Regions from separate parts of the Homo sapiens genome. Here regions 1, 2, 4 and 5 are each linked to region 3. Evidence: promoter capture Hi-C in 16 types of primary human blood cells and fetal thymus (Javierre and others, 2016). All regions are on one chromosome and are shown on one strand. Each heading gives the region's core, a stretch centred on a gene start or on the middle of the fragment in contact. The rest is flanking DNA. Distances are from core to core; before and after follow the strand shown.

What was found. Contacts are between HindIII fragments. The CHiCAGO score rates a contact against its expected background, and 5 or more counts as called.
Region 1: a fragment that was not itself captured here is called in contact with the fragment with the promoter of ACBD3 in region 3 in 3 of 17 cell types (total CD4 T cells, non-activated CD4 T cells and naive CD4 T cells); the score reaches 7.8 in total CD4 T cells.
Region 2: a contact is called between a fragment that was not itself captured here and the fragment with the promoter of ACBD3 in region 3, in 1 of 17 cell types (neutrophils). The highest score is 5.8, in neutrophils.
Region 4: a contact is called between a fragment that was not itself captured here and the fragment with the promoter of ACBD3 in region 3, in 1 of 17 cell types (neutrophils). The highest score is 5.4, in neutrophils.
Region 5: a contact is called between a fragment that was not itself captured here and the fragment with the promoter of ACBD3 in region 3, in 4 of 17 cell types (activated CD4 T cells, naive CD8 T cells, total CD4 T cells and 1 more). The highest score is 7.8, in activated CD4 T cells.

The regions. Positions count from the first base shown.
Region 1 is chr1:225,422,389-225,426,920 of GRCh38, reverse strand. It overlaps LBR (lamin B receptor), which reads left to right. Exons shown (of 14, transcript NM_002296.4): 2 at 2,832-3,010. The coding sequence starts at 2,846. Among named protein-coding and RNA genes, the nearest start is that of LBR, 3.4 kb to the left of the region's middle. RefSeq lists an enhancer at 1-473. The HindIII fragment of the contact is 4,429 bases long and covers 846-4,532 here.
Region 2 is chr1:225,400,115-225,404,685 of GRCh38, reverse strand. LBR (lamin B receptor) reads left to right here. Exons shown (of 14, transcript NM_002296.4): 12 at 1-60; 13 at 160-282; 14 at 1,223-3,184. The coding sequence ends at 1,383. Among named protein-coding and RNA genes, the nearest start is that of LBR, 26 kb to the left of the region's middle. The HindIII fragment of the contact is 2,389 bases long and covers 56-2,444 here.
Region 3 is chr1:226,184,677-226,188,681 of GRCh38, reverse strand. It overlaps ACBD3 (acyl-CoA binding domain containing 3), which reads left to right and starts at 1,941. Exons shown (of 8, transcript NM_022735.4): 1 at 1,941-2,292. The coding sequence starts at 2,007. It overlaps LOC101927247 (a long non-coding RNA gene), which reads right to left and starts at 786. Exons shown (of 2, transcript XR_001738504.2): 1 at 749-786. RefSeq lists silencers at 2,040-2,334, 1,971-2,450. The HindIII fragment of the contact is 12,408 bases long and covers 1-4,005 here.
Region 4 is chr1:225,489,391-225,493,357 of GRCh38, reverse strand. It overlaps ENAH (ENAH actin regulator), which reads left to right. Exons shown (of 14, transcript NM_018212.6): 14 at 1-3,967. Among named protein-coding and RNA genes, the nearest start is that of LINC02765, 24 kb to the right of the region's middle. The HindIII fragment of the contact is 2,064 bases long and covers 1,318-3,381 here.
Region 5 is chr1:225,443,133-225,447,591 of GRCh38, reverse strand. No RefSeq gene overlaps it. Among named protein-coding and RNA genes, the nearest start is that of LBR, 17 kb to the right of the region's middle. RefSeq lists enhancers at 1-319, 320-880, 881-1,441, 2,337-2,386, 2,887-2,956 and a cis regulatory region at 2,243-2,782. The HindIII fragment of the contact is 389 bases long and covers 2,477-2,865 here.

The DNA.
Region 1 (4,532 bases), core at 1,811-4,310, 760 kb after region 3:
CAGTTTAAGTTTTGTTTCTCAGGCTGCCTGGGAAGAGGGAGAAGAACGAGCAGGAGGGGAATGATGAGCTGCCCAAGGATGTTTATGGGGAAGAAGGCGCTTCTGCCTTTACAGCCAGGAAGGTGGCCTTTCTGTTGCTTCATGAAGCAAAGGGCGCGGAGCAAGGCCCGGGGTTCCTGTTTGCATTTTGCCTAGTGGGGCTACCGGGGCTCAGGTGTGAAAAGGAAGCTGTCCAACGTCATTCGAGCGTCTTGCTCTATGCCACGTTTAGATGAATTTGGAGAAGTGAAGGAAAGATGGCTGGAGACCCCTGTAATGTTAATGAGCAGAGAATTGTTGTGTTCACAAACAGTAACATACCGGAGCTGGAATGTGTGAGGATTGCAGTGCCAGTTGACTCTGAAGTTAGCGGGCATCTGGCTTAATAGAGAAAAACCTGAGGGTCTCCGTGTTTTTCCTGTTTATGGCGAATGAGGACATTGGGTGCAGTGAACAAAATTTTTCTTTACAAACACACTTGCCTAAAACATCTCTTGTAAGAAAATCCTGTGTGTATCTTGACTCCTGTAGGTGAGTGCATAGTGAGTGACACGAACAAATGTGGGGCTTTTGTGTGCCATCCTGGCTATTTCACTCCTGTGGGGGAATATATTAGGATGTGATTGCACTGTATCCTCACGTTTGACAATTGTGTGTGGATCTTGTGTAAAGTGGGGGTGCACATCATGTTGTTGGCTTCATCTTTTGGAACATTTGTGTATAAGATAATGGTCTTCTAAGAAGAATGCCGGTTCATTTTGTTTGTTTTTCAAGCAAATCTTAATTCTTCTTTTAAAAAGTAAGCTTTAGAGACCTAACAGGTATCCACCATATGTGTTAACTTGTTTAACCCAGAATAATTGATAAGAATCTTTTTGGCACTGGCCTGCGTTTATATTACACAGATACTGTGTATGTGGTGTGTAAGTGCAATGGAAAGATGCCAGTAAATAAGTTTTTAAGAACACGCAGAAACTGTTCAAGGGTCTTTTAAAACCTCAAGTAGCCCCTGCGTCCTGAAGGGCTTGTGTTTCAAAAGTTTATAAAGAGTTTTTTGCAACTTGAGCATCTTCCTGTAGGAAGACATAATTGCCTTCTTTTAACTCTGGCTGACCAGTGTAGGAGAGCTAGTACTAGTAAGAGTGGTTTGATTTTGGGGGGCCTAGGGAGGAGGAGGGGGCTCAAGAGAAGAGAGAAGGAGGGTACATTTCCTTCCTCTTTCTTTGTACTTGGAGGCTCTGAGCTAAATGTTGAAATAGGCAAAGCTGGATGTTGTCACCTTCCGTTTTTATGCCCCTGCTCATGCAGAGGTGTTCACTGCCCCCCTGCTCCCTAAGTGCCCCTCGGGTGACTCAGCCAGGCCTGACTTCATCCCGAAAACTTGTGGGCTCCTCCCCACTACTCCAAGCCCAAACCCATTCATTACCCCAGTGATGCCCAATCTCAGGTAGGTGTAGGGAAGAAAGCTGCCTCTCTTACCTAATGTGTTAATTGACTGACATCCTCTAATCACCAGATAAGTACTTGTGTTTTCTTTCATCTACCAACCTAGCTGCCATCTCTGTAAACTAGTAGAGCTTGTTAAGTTTTTTCACAGACGATTAACAGTGAAAAAATGTGGTGGTTAAGAAAGGCCTCCCTCACCCCGCCTCCCCCCCCACTCTCCCACTACTCCCTTGGGGTAGGTAATTCAACTTTCTCCTTAATTCCAGAGTCTTCAAAGGTTCCTAAATGTTGCTTTTATTGTATCATCAGCTCTTAACAGGAGCCAGTGAGGAATGTACATTGATAGGCTTGGACAATACATCAAGAAGTGCTTAGTTGGTGAAATGAAGGTGATTTGGGAGACAGCTCATATCTGTCCTACTGGCTGCCCCTTGGACGTGGCCCCAGCTAGTTCATGTGGTACTGGGGAAGGTCGGCAGCCCTGGTTTTGTTGTGTGGAAATGTGATTCCGCTGGTCAGCCGATGGAGCGGCATTACTGTCTGGCAGCTGGAAGTACCCAGCTATCAATTGATATTTCAAAAAGGGTGGCAGACAGGCCTCACGTAAGTGGCAGTTCTTGCAGATTGCTTGTGGATTCCTAGAGTATTGTGGGGCTTGTGGGCCATGTTTTGAATCAGAGGAAAAGAATGTTATAATTGGGGGTTGATGGCTGCTGTAGGCTTGAGAGAAGTGAGCTTGGATGAAGGCAACCACCCTGGCTTAGGTGGGTGGTTGGCAGAGTTACTTGGTATGCATTTGTACTTTAGCTGTAAGAGTTGAAAGCTAAATAACCCCCAAATTTATTCATTACAGACTTGGAATTATTTTTCTTCCTATTGTTGGGTTATAGTCATGTTAATTGTACATCCTTGATTTTCCCAGTCTGGTTTATAGTTTGCTGTTTTTAATAAAGGCAATTTGTTAAAAATACAATTAAATGCATTTTTAAAGCCATTGTAAATTGATACGCAAATTTACAAATGAGAAAATGTGTTCTTTGTGAGATTGTGCCTCATTTTTTGATTAGCGAGAACTGTGATCACGGTAGGTGGGTAACATTTTACATAGTGTGAACTTATGGCGCCTATATACATTGTTATAATTAATCTTTAGTGTCACATAGATAACGCAGTGGCTAAATCATCCTCTCAAATGATTCCAAATGAGATTGAATGTAGCCTTTCTGGCCCTAAAATCCTGACCAGTCAATTCTGGAAAGTTGTATTTTAGTGATCAGCCTGTGGAAAAAGACGAATACATAAATGTGTATGTATTGACTCAAATTTTTTTCTTTAAAACTATTCAGGTTAATTATAGAAAATGCCAAGTAGGAAATTTGCCGATGGTGAAGTGGTAAGAGGTCGATGGCCTGGGAGTTCACTTTATTATGAAGTAGAAATTCTGAGCCACGACAGCACCTCCCAGCTTTACACTGTGAAGTATAAAGATGGAACAGAGCTTGAATTGAAAGAGAATGATATTAAGGTAAGAGCTCCTTTGGTTTATCAGAGTGTGTTTACAGTAAGTGGGAAATAACTCTAAGTATGGTTTCTAAGCTCAGGATAGTCAGTTCAGCTCGGTTTGAAGGCAGAGGATTGAGCTCTTGCTTTGGGTCACATACTGTTTTTGGCTCTGGGAATGTATGAATGAGGCATAGTCCTTGTTCCCAAGAAGCTCACACTTACTGGGAAAGACAGCCATTTGCATCTGTTGGTCCCCTGGGTTTACTACGTTCTGTGTCTGGAGTTTGCTGTGGGTGGTGTTGAGTGTATCAAGGGTAGAGAAGAGCCCTGGGCTTCAGGGGAGGCTTTCAGAGGCAGTGACACCTAGCCAAGTGCTGAGAACAAACAGGAAAAACAGCAGTTGATGGGGCTGTTTCTGCAGAGAGGGCAGTATGCCAAAGTCAGGGGTCTGGGGGACACAGTCAGCCAAGTGCTGGAAGGGGGTGGTAGGGGAGGGCTAAGCAGGAGCCAGGCTGGGGGGGCTTTTATATTCCATGCCCAAGGGTTTGGGCTTCATCCTGAACACCAAGGATTTAATCAGGAGAGTGACATTAATTAGATTCGAGTCTAGCCCAGGGCTTTTCAACCTGTCTGGTGAGGGCCTGGGTTTTAAGATATCTGATCCGTAGTATACAAACATTTATATAAAATGCCATAAAAATGAGTTACTAGAAAAATAAAGACATACACAATAGACGACTCACAGTTTTACTATCAGATTCGATAGATATGAGATTACTTTGTCAAAATGCTATAAACATTTCCATACACCTATTTCTCAATTTTGGTACTTGCACAGATTAGTAACGAGCATTTCTAGGACCCATGGCTGAGGATGACACTTCGAGTGCTCTAGACCAGGAATAAAGCACAGAAAGTAAATATTTTAGACTTTATGGGAGCGGCTCCAGGCAGTATGGAAGGGAGCAGACATGGCAGTGTTCCAGTACAACTTTATGGACAGTGAAATTTGAATTTTGGATAATTTTCACACTTCAGGAAATACTGTTCTTTTGATTTTGTTTGTAATCATTTAAGAATGTAAAAGCCATTCTTAGTAGGAAGGCCACACAAAAATTGGGGTGAGGGACTTGGCCTGGGGCGTAATTTGTCTACATCCCTAGAAGCAACATAAGGAGATTCGGAGTAGGTGGGGACACAGTGAAACAGTTCCCAGTCATCCAAGCTCATGTTTTATTTTCAAGATCTGCTTATGTGTTTTGTTCAGAGTGAAACTGTGGTACTGTTTTTTTTTTTTTGGTCTGTGTGCTTATTTATTTTGTCCTGTCGTCTCAGTTTTAATCCATGTTAATTATTACCCTTCTTGCATATGGTGTTGGAAATAAGTACAGCTAATTGGTTTAGATACATTCGTTTCATGGAAATACCTTCAAAGAACAGGAATGGAAAGGCTGCATTTGTCTCATGAAAGATGGATCATTATGAAAGCATTTTCCATTGGCTTCATCTGATCCATTCTCAGATCCTAACATTTCCCGTGCTGA
Region 2 (4,571 bases), core at 1-2,500, 780 kb after region 3:
GAGGTGCAAATTCTCAGAAAAATGCATTCCGGAAAAATCCCAGTGATCCAAAGCTTGCACGTAAGTATTGATTTATGTTTATATTATATATATTACATGAAGGTTTTATTTTTCTTTTTGTCTCGACATCATTAAAAATGTACTTTTATTTTTATATAGATTTAAAAACCATTCATACTTCAACGGGAAAAAATCTTCTAGTTTCTGGATGGTGGGGCTTTGTTCGCCACCCCAATTACTTGGGTGATCTCATCATGGCCTTGGCGTGGTCCCTCCCATGTGGTAAGCATTTCAGAAGAGTGCTAGTTTGACCCTTTTAGCCGCCAGAAAGATGTGTGTGTGTGTCCTTTGTGTGGGACAGTGTGGCCAAGGTGGGTGTGAGTCTTTTTGTCGCCCTTTTCTACTGTGAGGTTGGCCTCTGTAGAAGCTCCTCTGGCTTCTGAGGGGAATTGGGAATTCACAGAGCCTGAAGTTTTACTTTAAGCCTAAAAGCACTATTTTAAGTTTTCAGCTGTGCCTGATAGCTTTTTTCTAAGTAGAATATATAGAAATTAATTCAGCTTCTTAATTCATGATTCAGTGTACATAGATTGGGAAAAACTTTGGTTTTTAAGAAGAGAAAGAGATTCTGTTTTTCTTTTTGTGTGTCTGGCCTCGTGGGGAGCTGGGAAAGCAGGGGAGCAGGGAGAGCTGTGGGAGCTGGAGGTGCTTGGGGAGCTGGGGTGTCAGGGGGAGCTGGAGGTACTGGTGGAGCCAGGGGAGCTGGGGGAACTGGGGGAGCAGGGGGATCTTGGGAAGCTGGGGGAGCTGGGGGAACTGGGGGAGCAGGGGGATCCAGGGGAGCTGGTGGAGGTGGAGGAGCTGGCCCGTGCCTGCTGCCTGTTTGGTGGCCCAGCCTGTGGTGGAAGACAGCAGTTTTTCTTCTTTGCTGGGGGAAGAAGGGCGAGAAATGAAGAGATGTGTATTAACTATGAGGACAGATGTTTTGATTGTGATGGATTGTTAGAATGGATTCATCAGTCTTTGAGTAGCTTCTAATTTAGATACGACCTTCTGCCACTTTCCAGTGGGATTTTACAGACTTGTTTAATTATTCTCATCATTATTAGAGAAAATGAAGTACCTTGTGGTTCCATTTTTAGAGAATTTGGGGGAAAGCAGGAAAAAATACATTGTAGTGATAATAAAAATATCTAATACTGTGTACTATTATTATCCACAGGTTTTAACCACATTCTGCCTTATTTCTACATAATTTATTTCACCATGTTGCTTGTCCACCGAGAAGCTCGTGACGAGTACCACTGTAAGAAGAAATACGGCGTGGCTTGGGAAAAGTACTGTCAGCGTGTGCCCTACCGTATATTTCCATACATCTACTAATGCTCTTCTGGCTTTTCTACAAAATACTCCTGCAATTCCAGCTGCCATTTGCAAAAACAAGGAAAAAAATCCGAAACTTTCTTTTGTTGCACTGACAGGGTCTGTACTTTTTTTTTTCTTTTTGAGTCAGGACTATGGAGCCGAGTAGTTGATCTTTTAATATAGCCGTGTTTACTTGTATTAACTTACAGTTAACATAGGAAAAATACAAGTAAGGATGTGAGAATTTGCATTTTAATGGGAAATTTTCAACCCTTAATCTGAAAACAGAAGACAGTCTTAATATAAATGTACTGTGAAGAATGCTATTGATGTTTATGGTTTCTGATTACTTTTCAAATTTTGATGTTTTTTTGCCAGTTGGCTTTTCTTAAATGAAAACACTGTTCCATTTAAAGTACATTTATGTTTTATTCAGTAAGAGAATAGAATTTTCATTTGTTTTTCTTTAAATCCTTTACTAATTATATAATTTGAAAGCAAAAAGAAGGGCCTATATTAAATGCTGAAAGTGAAAAGTGATGACATTATTAGCAGACACTGCTTAAAGGAGACCATTTGTAGCAGTTGGCTTAACCTCAACTTCTAAAACTACATTGAAAATGTAAATACATAGCTTAGTTTTTTGTAATATATGGTGACTTCAGATTTTTTTGTACAGTATTTTGAATGTGAGATGATTGTCAGGACTAACTGTCTTTTTAACAAAACATTTTCAGTATTTTAAATAAAATTTTGTAAAGTAATGTGAATTAAAAATTTTGGAACAATTAGAATTCATTCACTATTGTATAGAAGATGCTGTTAAAACATAGGAAGGGTATTTTTCTTGATCCAAAGTTTGTGAATTTGGCTTTGCTACCTCAATTGCAGGTGTTTGTTTGCCTTTATAAACTGTTGCAAATAGAAAAAAAATAGAATAAGTATATATTTTTGGAGTAACATCAATATTTAAACATTTTTACACAGATCGGTGTTTGAAAATTTGCCATTTCAGGCTAATATTTTTATATATTTTTGACTTTTTAAAAGTTCATCAGTGTTTTTGCTACTGTTAAGCTTATGCAGTTTATACTGTATTTTTTATGTATCCTTTATATTTACCAAACCTGACTCCCTGTAAAGGAGTGCTGTCTTAAAAACAACTGAAGGGGTTAAAGTCGTTTCTTTTAGTTTAATAGATGTGCATAAGGTAGCTTTAGCAATTAAATTCTAGTGAAGTTGATATAGTCTCATTTTTAATTGTCCTGTAATGGAACAGTAGCAAATTCACTAAACTTTTGTGTTCAGAGTTAAATTGTTCTCAGTACTTTCAATGTAGGGGAATGTAATAAACATAGTGTGTATGTTTGGGTTTTAATTACACATTTTATATATGAGCCATTTAGATATGCAGTGTTAATTCTATACTGCATTTGAAGTGTATGTAACTTAGCTTATGTTAATGCAGTCATGAAGTTGGTTTGCTCCAGCATCCGGTAGTCTTTAAACATTCTTTTAGTGAAATTGTCATTGTTTTATCAGTGCTAATGTGTGCAAGCAGTTTTTTTATTTTGCTTTTCTCCTGGCATCAGAAAGTGGTGGCGTTTTCTGTACTGGATTGCACCAAGGAAGCTTTTGGGGAGGAAGGAAGGACATTAAATTCTTTCCCTGGTAATGAAAAGAGCCCTTTATCAATACAGTGCTGCAATTTCTGGATATCAGCTACACTTTGTTTTTAAGTTTGTTTTTGACATGTTTATTTGGCAAATTTTATAATGAAGTTTTAAGTTGAAAATAAAATGTAGCAACATTTTGATCACTTTGGAGCCTTTTTTTTTTCCCTTTCTTGCTTGAAACTGAGATTTTTGGGACCAAGACAGGAGCCCTTAGATTCCCACCCCTGCCCAGCCTCCTGTTTTCCTAGGATCATCTGTTTGGGACCCCTGGCCAACTGCTGTTTAAAACTCTCAGAATGTTGGAACTCAAAGGGGTTAGTTGGGAATCCTAACTCCCAGAAAATGGTCATGTGTTTAGTATTTGCTGTTTGAGAAAATACAGAAATGCTAAAACTATTGTAGATCCAGTCATACTTTCAAATGCATTTGTATGAATCACAGAAGCATCTGTGCATTTGAAAGACAGTACGTGTGTGAGAGACACACGAGACACACACATGTACTGTGCCTGCTGACCGTGCTTTAGTGCTTGTTTGGATTTCCAGTTGACTCTAAGCCTGAATTGTGAGATGAGATCAGACAGCTTCACCTCTCAATTCTTCCTGCTGCGACGTTACATTGTGACATTACATTGCAAAATGTGGGTGTGTCAGAATATGCACCAATACCAAGTATACGATTTATATTTTGGTGTTTAGTTTTGCACTGTTTGGAGCAAATGATGAAATATAGGATTTTAACAAAAGATACAAGGTGGAGTGTTTCTAGGTGCAATTTACTTAAATATAGATGGTACAGTTTCCTAGACAATTAAATACATGTTTTGTTCATGGCTGTTAAAAGAGTCTAGTGCTGGGTACAAGTCCCACCTTTTCTACCCCCCTTACTATGGAGAGAGGGGACTGTTGGGATCTTCATTTGTGTACACGTGGGTTATGCTTTCTGCCCATGGACCATTGCCATGATAAAGAGACAGTGAGATGTGGCTTCAAATGCTAGCTGTGCTCCCTCTTAGCAATGTGTGTGTGGGCAATTAATCTCTTTGAGCACTGGTTTCCTCATGTATAAAATCTGGCTGATACGTCCACAGAGTATAGAGGGGCCTGAGGATGATATAGGAATTATTAGTGTTCAACATAGTGCTCAGTTATGTTAGCCATTATTAGTAGAATAACATTCTTCCTATAGGAACATTGAATTTACCAAATTCTCAGGATTTGGCTTTTAGTGGTCAGAGAGGTCTAGTGAAGTCAGAACCATATTGCACTTTTTTTTTTTTTTTTTTTAAAGAGATGGGGTCTTGCTTTGTTGCCCAGGCTGGGGTGCAGTGGCGTGATCATAGCTCAATGCAGCCTCAACCTCCTGGGCTCAAGCCATCCTCCTACCTCAGACTCTGAGTAGCTGGGACTAAAGGTGCCTCATCATGCCTGGCTAATTTTTTAAACAATTTTTTGTAAAGACAGGGTCTCATTATGTTGTCAAGGCTGGTCTTGAATTCCTGGCCTCAAGTGATCCTCTTGCCTTGGCCTC
Region 3 (4,005 bases), core at 692-3,191:
GAAGCATGCAAAAGGGAATAGATTAGAAACCCTATGTTTATGGGACAAAAACTTATAGTTGTACTACAGTGAGTCTGTCTGTATGTGAAGTTATATGTCTTATCCACCGTAATGAATGAGATCCTGTCTGAATGCAGCATACAAATCTTGTCCTGAAAAAAACCCTCGGCCAGGCGCGGTGGCTCACGCCTGTAATCCCAGCACTTTGGGAGGCCGAGGCGGGCATATCACAAGGTCAGGAGATTGAGACCATCCTGGCTAACACGGTGAAACCTCGTCTCTACTAAAAATACAAAAAAATTAGCCGGGCATGGTGGTGGGCACCTATAGTCCCAGCTACTCAGGAGGCTGAGGCAGGAGAATGGCGTGAACCCTGGAGGCGGAGCTTGCAGTGAGCCAAGATCGCGCCACTGCACTCCAGCGTGGGCGACAGAGAGAGACTCCGTCTCAAAAAAAAGAAAAAAACTCTCTAGGGCTTCAGTAAAAACCACACACAAAATTGTCACTGAAGCAGCCAAACGGCCATAAAAATCTCATAGCACATCCATGAAACTTGAGAGAGGTTTCCCAAACTGAACAATAACCCTAAAAAAGTACGTTAACAATATCAGTAATGAGTTGTGATGCTGAAATAAATTTATAAACAATTATTAAGAAACAAATTTAATCAGCCATGCTGGAGAAAAGACTGATCTTTCTCTTTTCTTTATAGAGAATTACAAAATACGCCGGGCGCGGTGGCTCTCACCTGTAATCCCAGCACTTTGGGGAGGCTGAGGCGGGCAGATCACATGAGGTCAGGAGTTTGAGACCAGCCTGGCCAACATGGGGAAACTCTGACTCTACTAAGTTTACAAAAATTAGCCGGGCGTGGTGGTGAGCACCTGTAATCCCAACTACTTGGGAGGCTGAGGCAGGAGAGTTGCTTGAACCCGGGAGGCAGAGGTTGCAGTGAACCGAATTGCACCACTACACTCCAGCCTGGGTGGCACAGCAGGACTGTCTGCAAAAAACAAAAAAAAAAAAAAAAAAAAAAAGTTACAAAATAATTGTTATAGGAAAAGGCAATCAGAAGTACGCAGCCAAAACAAAGGTGGGAAAAATGATCATAAATGGTGCTCCCAAAGTCTGGAAACACAGGTGAATATACATAATGTCGGGGGCGACTTCAATCTTTTAGAAAAAAATAGGTTTCTGGGCTCTCAGACGCCCTGTAGAAGAATATCAGGCAGTCAATGAAAATATTACGGTTATGTGTGTGATGTTTGTGGGTTTTATTAACTTTTAAAATATCATTTGTTTTTTCTTTCTCTTTCTAAATATACATTCACTTTCCTACCCTTCTGCGCGTAACTTTTTGTACTCTTTCCTAATGAGGGTCCCCACAAATTGTATGAGCTGCGCTTCCTGCAAAACCAGGATCAGCCCCGTCTGCAACCTCAAAGTCACTGAATTTCTCTGCAGTCTCAGTTTCCCCTTTTAAAAAAATTGGGAATTTGCCCTGCATTTCCTTAGAGTTGCTGTGAAGGCCAAACGAGATGGTGGTGGGCAAAAGAGCTCTGCCAACCACGCAGGCCCCTGCAAATGTGAAGGGCCTCTGACCTGGAGGGTTGGGTGCTGGCCGACCTCGTCAATCCTCCCTACTCCGACCCCCGCGCGGGGCTCCACTGACCCCGCCCCTGCTGGGCACTGACAGCCGCAGCACCGAACCGAGCGGTGGGGGTGGTAGCACCCGCCCACCTGGAGCAACTGGGATCCGAAAGGATGGGGTGCGGGGGAGGGGAGTTCGGGACCAACGGGAGTTGGGGAGCCTGAAGGGTGGTCGCTGAGCCAGGGCAACTGACGATTCCGGAGGGGGTGGGGCGCCAGGCCTCAGCCCCTCTCCCGGAGCCCTCCAGCCTCCTCAGCAGCGGAAGTTCCGGTGTCGGTAAGCGGAGGTCAGAGGTCAGCAGGAAGTCGATACGTGGCTGCCGTCTGTCCCCGCTGAGGAGGTGCAGCAGCCGGAGATGGCGGCGGTGCTGAACGCAGAGCGACTCGAGGTGTCCGTCGACGGCCTCACGCTCAGCCCGGACCCGGAGGAGCGGCCTGGGGCGGAGGGCGCCCCGCTGCTGCCGCCACCGCTGCCACCGCCCTCGCCACCTGGATCCGGTCGCGGCCCGGGCGCCTCAGGGGAGCAGCCCGAGCCCGGGGAGGCGGCGGCTGGGGGCGCGGCGGAGGAGGCGCGGCGGCTGGAGCAGCGCTGGGGTTTCGGCCTGGAGGAGTTGTACGGCCTGGCACTGCGCTTCTTCAAAGGTGAGCCGGGCCAGCCCCACCCCCGCCGCTTCTGCCCGGCCCCGGGAGCCCGGCGTGGGCTGTGGTCCCCAGGGTGACTGGACCAGACTTGCCCTCACCCACTCATACTGGGCTGTGGTGACTCAAGCGGGGTTCCCTCCTTGGGGGTACCCGAAGTTTGTCACTACCCGCTTGGCCACTAGGTCACACCCCTGACGGGCCTGCAACCTTGGTTTAGCAGTCATGTCCCGCCTCCCAGAGGTTACCGGGACATTTTACCTGATTTAGCTTCTGGGATTTCCAGGAGCCCTGGTGGAAGAATGAGCCCACTTTCTTCCAAAGGATCCCATTCTGGGATTGCCTTTTATTATTATTATTTTTTTAACTGACGCTTTTCTTTTCCTATTTCCCATGGCTTGTCACATCAGAACCCGCCGATTTTTACCCTTAGTGGAAGAAATCTGTCAAGAGGTTCCATACATAGCTTTTCCAGCCATTCTTGGGAACCATAAACTGGAACAGGACTTGATCCCCCGGCAGATTGATGTGGCAGAGAGGAGGAAGTAAAGTGTTAAGCTCATCATCCTCTCCGGCTTGTCAAACTCTTGAGGAGAGATGTCCACTATGTTCTAGTAACTTCTAGGTGGTTAAAATTTTACATTGTAAGCAATGTGCAAGAGTGAATTCTCAGAGTAAGGCCTAACAGTACCTTCTGTGCTTTTCGCATAATTAATTGTTAAATGTCTCTTGTCTTAGAGCAAGATTGTAGTGTGCGGTTTTTTTTTTTTTTAATTGGGTGATTCACTTAGTCGAATGGTGGAGAGACCAATCACATGATTTTTGTCAGTGGGAAAAACTGATGAAAGCCCGTTAGTTTGATTCTTAAAGATACTTAGTCTTGTAGGGCGAATGGACAGGGAGGGACATCAGCAAATGCAACTTTAAAAGTGGTTGCTAGGTTCCACGTACATTCCAGAGCAGCATATTTATGACACTTTCCCCAGAGGGAGTACCTTTTGGAGTACATATTTTACTAGCCAAAGTTGAGTAGTTCAATGTAATGATACACACGGAAGTTGTTTTCTCTCAAAATAACTTTAATTGTGCAAACTAGTGAAAGTTTTATAAATTTTCCAGAACATTTGATCATTTCACATTCAATGACATATTCGTGGTCATTGCACAATGAGTTGAGCCCTCTGTGTACTAACTAGCTTGGGGAATTGGTAATGGCTAATGGGTTTTGGATCATTTGACTTTTAGATCACCGGCTTGAATTTAGAGTTTGCTGTAGTGATGATATATTACCACTTGATAAAAATCAGGTGGTTTCTGTACAATTCATATAGCTACATTCCATCTTAAATTTTTATTCTTGGAACTTATTTTTCAGTAAAGTATATTGTAGCAGAGAGTAAGAGTAGAAATGAACTAATTCCTTTTTTTTTTTTTTTTTGAGCTGGAGTCCTGCTCTGTTGCAGGACTGAGGGAGGCTGAGGCAGGAGAATCACTTGAACCCGGGAGGCGGAGGTTGCAGTGAGCCAAGATGGCACCATTGTACTCCAGCCTGGGCGACGAGCAAAACTCCGTCTAAAAAAAAAAAAAGAATCGCTTCAATATGGGAGGCAGAGGTTGCAGTGAGCCGAGATCATGCCACTGCACTCCATCCTGGGCGACAAAGTGAAATTCTGTCTCAAAACAAAGAAAAAGATTAAAACACTGTAACGTGTAGTA
Region 4 (3,967 bases), core at 1,100-3,599, 700 kb after region 3:
CAATTACTTAAAGAAGAGTTTTCTTTTGAGGATTTGTAGATTTGACTAAGCAGCTGAAGTCAGTAACCCCTCAAGAAAGTCCGTTTATAGAAGCCAAGAACTGTTGGAGGTCTGTGATGCAGGTTTTTCTGTTCCCAACATCAAAAGCTGTGGATTATTTGGTGTGTTCCCCTTTATGTTATCTCTCGATAATTTTTGAGACATCAAGATTTTTTAAAATATCAATACTGGAAAGATGAAACCTTCAAATTAAAACCTAAAATTGATTAGAAAGAAAAGTAAAATATTAATGCAGTAAATTTAGGATGGTTACAGATACTCACCATCAACATAAATAAATGGAGTTCTAGGATAAATTATTTGTGGAATACTAATGGTCAAGTCACATAAGAGTAAAATCTTTTGGTGAGGAGACACATTTGACAACTGCTAAAGAATTAACTAAATTTGTCTTTCTAAATAGTTTTCTTTATAAAGTAACAGAAACATTGTAAAAGGATAAATGACTGTCATAATGACTTAGGATGTTGTAAGAATGTCTGCCACATTTATTGGTTATTTCTGTTGAAATCTGAAGGAATCGATACATCTGAAAATTGAGAAAGGGAAATAGGACTGTCCCCGTTACAGATACTCTGTGATGCACACAACCTTCTAAACGGAAGTGTTAGTATCATTTAAAGCACATAGTAGGCCTTGAGTATTTGCAGATTAACATGCAGAAAAAATCAAAGATGAAGCCCCAATTAAGTGTTTGAACCAAAGAATCACAGTCACTGAGCTGCACCCCCGTTCTGTGAAGCATGTTAAATACTCATAAAGAGCAGAGAGCAGGGCCCGTAGACGCTTCTGGTGTAGGACACAGGAATTCTAGGCAGAGGGAGAAAATTAGGGGCCCCAGTTGGTGGCTGAGAGTAAAAAGAATATACCATTTGAGTAGTGCTGTTCTTTTTCCTCAGTTTTTAAAGACATATAATTCCTAGTAGTTAGGACATCTAAATAGCTCGGTAAACTGGTCAGAGGCGGGAGGATTGCTTGAGGCCAGAAGTTTTGAGATCAGCCTGGGTAACAGGGAGACTCATTTCTACAAAAAAATTTAAAAATTTAGGCCAGGCATGGTGGTGCACACCTGTAATCCCAGCTACTCAGGAGACTGAAGCGGGAGGATCACCTGAGCCCAGGGAGGACGCGGCTGCAGTGAGCCGTTATCATGCCACTGTACTCCAGCCTGGGTGACAGAGCGAGAACCTGTCTCTAAAAAAAAAAAAAAAAAATTCTAAGAGAATATAGCTTTTCATAGAAATTATTAGAAAAGCTTACATATTTCATTAGAGAGCCCAGTTTGTTAGACTACATTTATTCCGTAAAAGTTCTATATACAAATGACAACCCATAGTTTATCATGTAAATCTGATTTAACTGTTCCCTTCAATTCCAAGAAAGATTTCTTCAGCAGTAGATGACAATTCTAAAAGCATAAAGAAATAACTAATAAAGGAGATGGATGATGTTATAGGTTGGTTTGGTTGGGTTTTAGTAAATAGTTATTCTTCTAAGAAGGCTTAGAAAATCGAGAATTGAATAGTTGGTACTTTGAATTCCATAGGAAAAAGCACTCAGAAGAAAAAGTCTACATTGGCTAGTGTTTAGATTGAGAGTTAATTTTCCCATCAAGTCCAAAAGTTTCCATCCAAGTCTATAGAAACTGAGAGAAAAGGTTCTTGGCTTACACTTAAAATACACATTGTTGCAACCATATAAGAGAGATACATTACAGAACGCTTTTAAAAATTTGGTCTCTTAAGCGCCTAACAGTCCATGCTTTAGTCACATCTGTGAAACCTCTTTTCTTTTTTTCTTTTTCTTTTATTTTTTTTTTTAAAGATTAAAGGCATTTTAAAAATAAATGTTTCATGGCCGGGCATGGTGGCTCACGCCTGTAATCCCAGCACTTTGGGAGGCTGAGGTGGGCAGATCACCTGAGGTCAGGAGTTTGAGACCAGCCTGGCCAACATGATGAAACCCCATCTCTACTAAAAATACAAAAAAATTGGCTGGGCATAGTGGTGGGCACCTGTAATCCCAGCTCTTCGGGAGGCTGAGACAGAAGAGTCGCTTGAATCCAGGAGGTGGAGGTTGCAGTGAGCTAAGACCGCGCCACTGTACTCCAGCCTGGGCGACAGAGCGAGATTCCATCTCTAAATAAATAAATGTTTTTCAACGTGTTTTATGTGAGAAATACCAGCTTTTCATTATTACTACCAGTTGATCTCAGGTGTCACTTGGTTGGTTCTGCTGACCGAGGCACTGGGCATTTTAAATATGGAGTTTCCCTCCACCCATTGATCAAGTCTGAGGTTTGTCCATCCTTGGTGGCAGGCTAGCTTAACCATGGATTCACAAACCCCATTTGATTGTCGTAAGTCATAAGGCCACCCCAGTGCCAGTGGTTGGGCATCACAGTGAGTCTGAGGTGATGAATTTGAGTTAGCTGTAGGCTAGTTCCGCAACTCAGCAATAGCCCATGGATGGTTGGTAAAAGACGTTGACTTTGCCACTTAAATTTCCAGGAGAAGAATAGCTTATAGTTTATCTGAGGAAAGTAATTGGGAAGGCTTAGATATTGAGAAGAAAGCCCTGTTAAAATCTAGGTAGCATTTCCTTTCTTCTTTATTACTAGAGGGATGGGAGGTTCAGGCCTGAGTCAGGACTTTACAATTTGGTGTCCTTCCCAGAGGTACTTTGGGCTTGATCATTTTAAGTTTCAATTGCAAAAAAAAATTTTTGACGGAGTGTTGCTCTGTCACTCAGGTTGGAGTGCAGTGGTGCGATCTCGGCTCACTGCAACTTCCCCCCCCTGGGTTCAAAGGGATTTTCCTGCCTCAGCCTCCCAAGTAGCTGGGACTACAGGCGCGTGCCACCATGCCCGACTAATTTTTGTATTTTTAGTAGAGATGGGGTTTCACCATGTTGCCCAGGCTGGTCTTGAACTCCTGAGCTCAGGTGATCTGCCCGCCTCGGCCTTCAATTGCAGAAGTTTTTGAAGGGAGAATATTTGATCCTCACATAAAATGTCCTTGTTTCTGAAAGAAAACATGGTAAAAATTGTTATTGAGTCCATGTCTTTGCCACCTTGTTGGACTTGATTTCCCTTTCTCTGTGTTCCTCCCGCCCTCAGTCTCTCTCAGTCTGTCCTTTTTTGTGTGTGGAGTTGTGGGCAGGTCATTGGACTGGGACTGACTTTACCAGTTTTCAGGCTGTGGGGCTAGTCAGTCATTCTCTCTGAGCCTTCTACCTCTAAAGTTGAGTTCTTTTTTTAAATTCTTTTTGTTTTGTTTTTATTTTTTCCTTGCCACTATACAAGCAAGGATAGATAAAGCTTTTTATTATTATTGTTATTATTATTATTTCGAGACAGTCTCGCTCTGTCATCCAGGCTGGAGTGCAGTGGTGTGATTTCAGCTCACTGCAACCTCTGCCTCCCGGGTTCAAGCGATTCTCCTACCTCAGCCTCCTTAGTAGCTGGGACTACAGGCATGCGCCACCACACCCGGCTAATTTTTGTATTTTTAGTAGAGACAGGGTTTCACCGTATTGGCCAGGCTGGTCTCGAACTCCTGACCTCAGGTGATCCACCCACCTTGGCCTCCCAAAGTGTTGGGATTACAGGCATAAGCGACCGTGCCCATCCCCGATAAAGTTGAGTTCTGAATTTCCTCTTTCACTGTATTCTCGGCAGCTACTGGTTGGTTTATTCTTTTTTTTTAATCTTTTTTGGTTTATTCTTCTTTTGATCTTTGAAGAGAAGGAGAAAAAAGATCTGAGTTTGGCTCTCCCATCTTAAGTGCAGCTTTTAGTTGTTTTATAGTCATAGACGCTATTGCACTGGACAGCATGCATCCTGGATGTAAACAATGCGGAAAAATCAATGGAGTGACCATCTTGGGGTCAGTGGTGTTGCATAAAG
Region 5 (4,459 bases), core at 1,422-3,921, 740 kb after region 3:
TCTGGCCCTTCCCTAGGGAGTGCCTTCCCCTCTACCTGCCAGGTCCCATAGATAAGGATGTCCTCCCCTGCAGGCGCCTGGCCTCCATCACAGCATGCCCACTCTGTGCCCGCTGCAACCTCCTCTGACTCTCCCACTAGACCGGTGCCTGGTACACATGCTCCTGCGTGCATGAACATCGGTCAGCTATGGGTCCTCAAGATGACAAAACCCCCTGCTCCTGTGTCCTCACGGGGATCTGCACCAGCACTGGGCTGAACACTCTCCCTGCAATCTGTCAGTCACGTCTTCTGTAGCATTTTCTTTCTGGCAACAACGGTTGGGGTCATTAAAAGTGTCTTTGAAATGCAACCTTTTAATTACAGGAGGAATACTGCCCCTGGGAAGGGGCCTTTCTTCAAATGCTCCAGGAATTCCTTGGCCAATACACTCCAGGGGGAACACAGCCCAAAACGGGCCTGTGGCTGTGATCAGACCCAGGCATCCTGTCAAAACAGGAGCCTGGGAAGGGGAAGCTCAGGGAAGGAAAGGGGCTCCTCTTGGGAAGAGCAGGGGTGCTGGAGGAAGAAACCCACCCAGTCCCCTTTGGGCCTAACTTAAGATATGCTCACCGGCTCTCTAGCACGCAGTTTTCCCCAGGAGGTCCCTTGGCCATGACCCAAAGTTAGGAACTAGGGGTCTGCGGACGCCTCCTCCTCCCATATCAGAATATGCTCTCCACCGCCTGCACGGTGGCATTGGCTTTCTGGAGCTTTAGGGCCAGCAGGGGCAGCAACCATCTTCCCACGTGTCTCAGGCTGACTGCACACAGCTCCTCTCTTTGTTTTCAGAAGCCAAAAAGAGCCAGGCAGGCCAAAGCGGGAAAAGGGGGGGCTTCTAGGAAACACCTGGGGTGGCTGGGCAGAGGTGAGATGTGACCCTGGCTAGCCTGAGGGCTCCCTGTGGCTTTCGATGGCCAGCCTGTGATAAAGCCCTGAGAACTCCATCTCCTGTGATTTTCCTGGGGTACTGATTTTCCCCTCCCTGGGAGTCTAGGTGTTTGTTTATAATATCCAAGAATGCTAATTGAGATCAAAGTGACTCTGAAGTTCACCCTGGGGGTGCTGCAGTCTGAAAGGTGTTTTGCAAAGACACGATCTTGGTTAGCCCTTCCCTGGCGCTATGCTGCAGGAAGCTTCTCACAGGGAATAGTCCACACTGTAATCTACCTCAGGCAGGTGTGCTGCTGGGAAACTCAGTTAATGATGTCTAATCTTTAAGAGCCATGGGAAACTCAGGAAGACCTAGCTGGACAGATACTACTCAGACATTTTCTCAAATAAGTGTGGCAGAGCCACTCCTCATCTGGTTCTTCCAGTCTTAGTTACCTGCCGAGCCAGGTGTGGCAGGTGTCAGGTACAGGGATCTGGGAGCTCAGAGAGCAGTAGCAGGAGCTTTAGGCTTCAGTTTTTTCTCCCACTTGATGGCCCCAGACGCCTTGGTGAAGTGAAATGCTCCCTGCCTGGGGCTCCAGGATGCCTTCGAGTGACTGCCTTAAGGTTATTGTGTTTTCTTGTGGCTACGCCAGGATGTTCTGCTTCACCAAGCATTTCCATCCTCAATCGTCATGTCCCTACTGAAACTCTGTGTTCTCTTCTCAAGCAATTTTCTGGTAAAAACATTTTCCTGGCTAGCCTGTAAGCATTGCTGTCTAGCTTTTGTGTTAGCACTGATTCAGATGGCCACTACCCACTCTGTGCAGCAGACTTTCAAGACCAAGCAGACTGATAGGCAGGCAGGAGGGTGGAGTTCTCTACCTGCTGGAATGCCCTGAGGCCCAGAGAAGGGATGGACAGGGCATCAGTGTCTCTCCCGTGTCTCTCTTGCCTTCAACCACTGACTCACCCATGTTGTTTCTCACTTAAGTTAAAACACACAGAGGGGCTGTTCTTAGAGAAAGTCTAACTCGGCTGGGCGTAGTGGCTCACGCTTACAATCCAGCACTTTGGGAGGCCGAGGCAGGCAGGTCATCTGAGGTCAGGAGTTTCAGACCAGCCTGGCCAACATGGTGAAACCCCGTCTCTACTAAAAATACAAAAATTAGCTGGGCATGGTGGCGCACACCTGTAGTCCCAGCTATTCAGGAGGCTGAGGCAGAGAATCGCTTGAACCTGGCAGGCAGAGGTTGCAGTAAGCAGAGATCACCATTGCACTCTAGCCTAGGTAACAAGATCGAAACTGTCTTAAAAAAAAAAAAGTCTAACTCTACTTTTGATCAAATTGTATTCTTGCAAACAATTTTGCAAGAAATTGATTGTCTCATTTTGATGCCATGATGACATTTTGGGAAATGTTTCCAAGTTGTTACAGTTTTCTAGCTGCCAGGACCTGGGTGCTTCCTGTGGCAGACAAAGGGTGACTCCGCGCATAGGGTGCCAAGAGGGAGGGCTCCACTCCATTCTGAACTTTTACACATCAGCCTCCTGCAAGATAAGCTTCCTGGTTTTCATATTACAACATGAACCAAACCGCAGAGGTTATGACTTCTCTGTGTTTTAAGCCCTGCCCACTTCCTGCTCACGTGCCTGGTCTGCAACGACCATTTATTTCAGGATGTGAAGTCAAAAGCAAAGCCCAAACAATAGTGAGCGGCTTCTGAGCCAAGCTCGTCAGCCTGCTAACCCACTCAGAACTGCCCCATCTTCAACATGAACAAGTGCTTCTGGAACAAATACCAGCCAATTTCACACAGTCCAGGCCTTTGACATGAAATACGGATCAGCTCTACATTTATGCACGACAATGTCGATTTGTTATCTGTTGGAGTGATTGTATACCTTCGGTGGTAGAACTGAGGTTCCCAGGGGAGCTATTAAGAAAAAAGCTTTTCTGGCACGGGTGCGGTGGCTCACGCCTGTAATCCCAGCACTTTGGGAGGCCAAGGCTGGTAGATCACCTGAGGTCAGGAGTTCGAGGCCAGCCTGGCCAACATGGTGAAACCCCATCTCTACTAAAAATACAAAAATTAGTTGGGCGTGATGGCGCATGCCTGTAATCCCAGCTACTTGGGAGGCTGAGGCAGGAGAATTGCTTGAACCTGAGAGGCAGAGATTGCAGTGAGCCAAGATCGAGCCACTGCACTCCAGCCTGGGTGACAGAGCAAGACTCCATCTCAAAAAAAAAGAAAGAAAGAAAGAAAGAGTTTTTCTGGCTAGGTGTGGTGGCTTATGCCTGTAGTCTCAGCTACTTGGGAGGCTGAGGTGGGAGGATTGCTTGAGCTGGGGGAGTTTGAGGCTGCAGTGAGCTATCACACCACTGCACTCCAGCATGGGTGACAGAGCAAGACCCTGTCTCGGGGGAGAAAAAAAAATGCAAATGCTTTCCTGACAGAACTAAGAGAGTTTGGAACTAGGGTTCTATAAAGTCAGCCCTGGTGTGGGACTTCTGTTATTACAGAGAGTACAGAAAGTGTCCTAAAAGGACAGCTGGGTGGCTGGGCATGGTGGCTCACATCTGTAATCCCAGCACTTCGGGAGCAGAGGTAGGCGGATCACCTGAGGTCAGGAGTTCGAGACCAGACTGGCCAACATGGTGAAACCCTATCTCTACTAAAAATACAGAATTAGCTTGGCATGGTGGTGCATGCCTGTAATCCCAGCTACTTGGGAGGCTGAGGCAGGAGAATCATTTGAACCCAGGAGGTGGAGGTTGCAGTAAGCTGAGATTGCACCATGGCACTCCAACCTGGCCAAAAAGAGCGAAACTCCATCTCAAAAAAAAAAAAAAAAAAAAAAAAAAAAAAGACAGCTGGCCAAACAGCAATAGGCTGATCATGTGTATTTAGCGCACATGGGCACAGCCCATGGCACCAAGGGGGACATCGAGGTCACAGATGAAAAGACTTGCTCTCATAGTGCTTACAGTTTATGAGCCAACAGCCACGTTAAGCAACAGCCTTCACTGGATATATAATTAGGGGTGGGGTAGACACTTTCTACACCAAAGACAACTCTTTAGGCTCCAGATGGGATTCCGGCTGCTCCTGACTGGTCTCTCTTAGTCCTTCATACATCACACACCGTGGACTCTGAGTTACACGCCACTGGTCTCTCTTCCCAGCTCAGCCACTCACTCCGTGTGTCAGCCGGAGCAGGTCATTCAACCATTCTTTCAGTTTCTTCACCTGTGGAATGGGGATAAATGGACCTATCTCACAAGGACATTGAAAGGATTAATAGAGCGATTGCATGCAAAATGCTGGCACCTAGTGGAGTTGTAATCAGAGTAGAAAGACACTATCATGCGTCTCTGTATTCCCAGATACTGGCTGGCCTGCAGCGAGCCACAGCGTTACCATGGGTGGGCCCGTGGGAAGGGGCAAGCATTGACCTAACTCCTCACATTTCCTTATTTTTCTCTCCCCTCTGTTATATCCTTTCTAAATAGTCATTCCAGGATATACAACTCCCTGCCCCTGAAC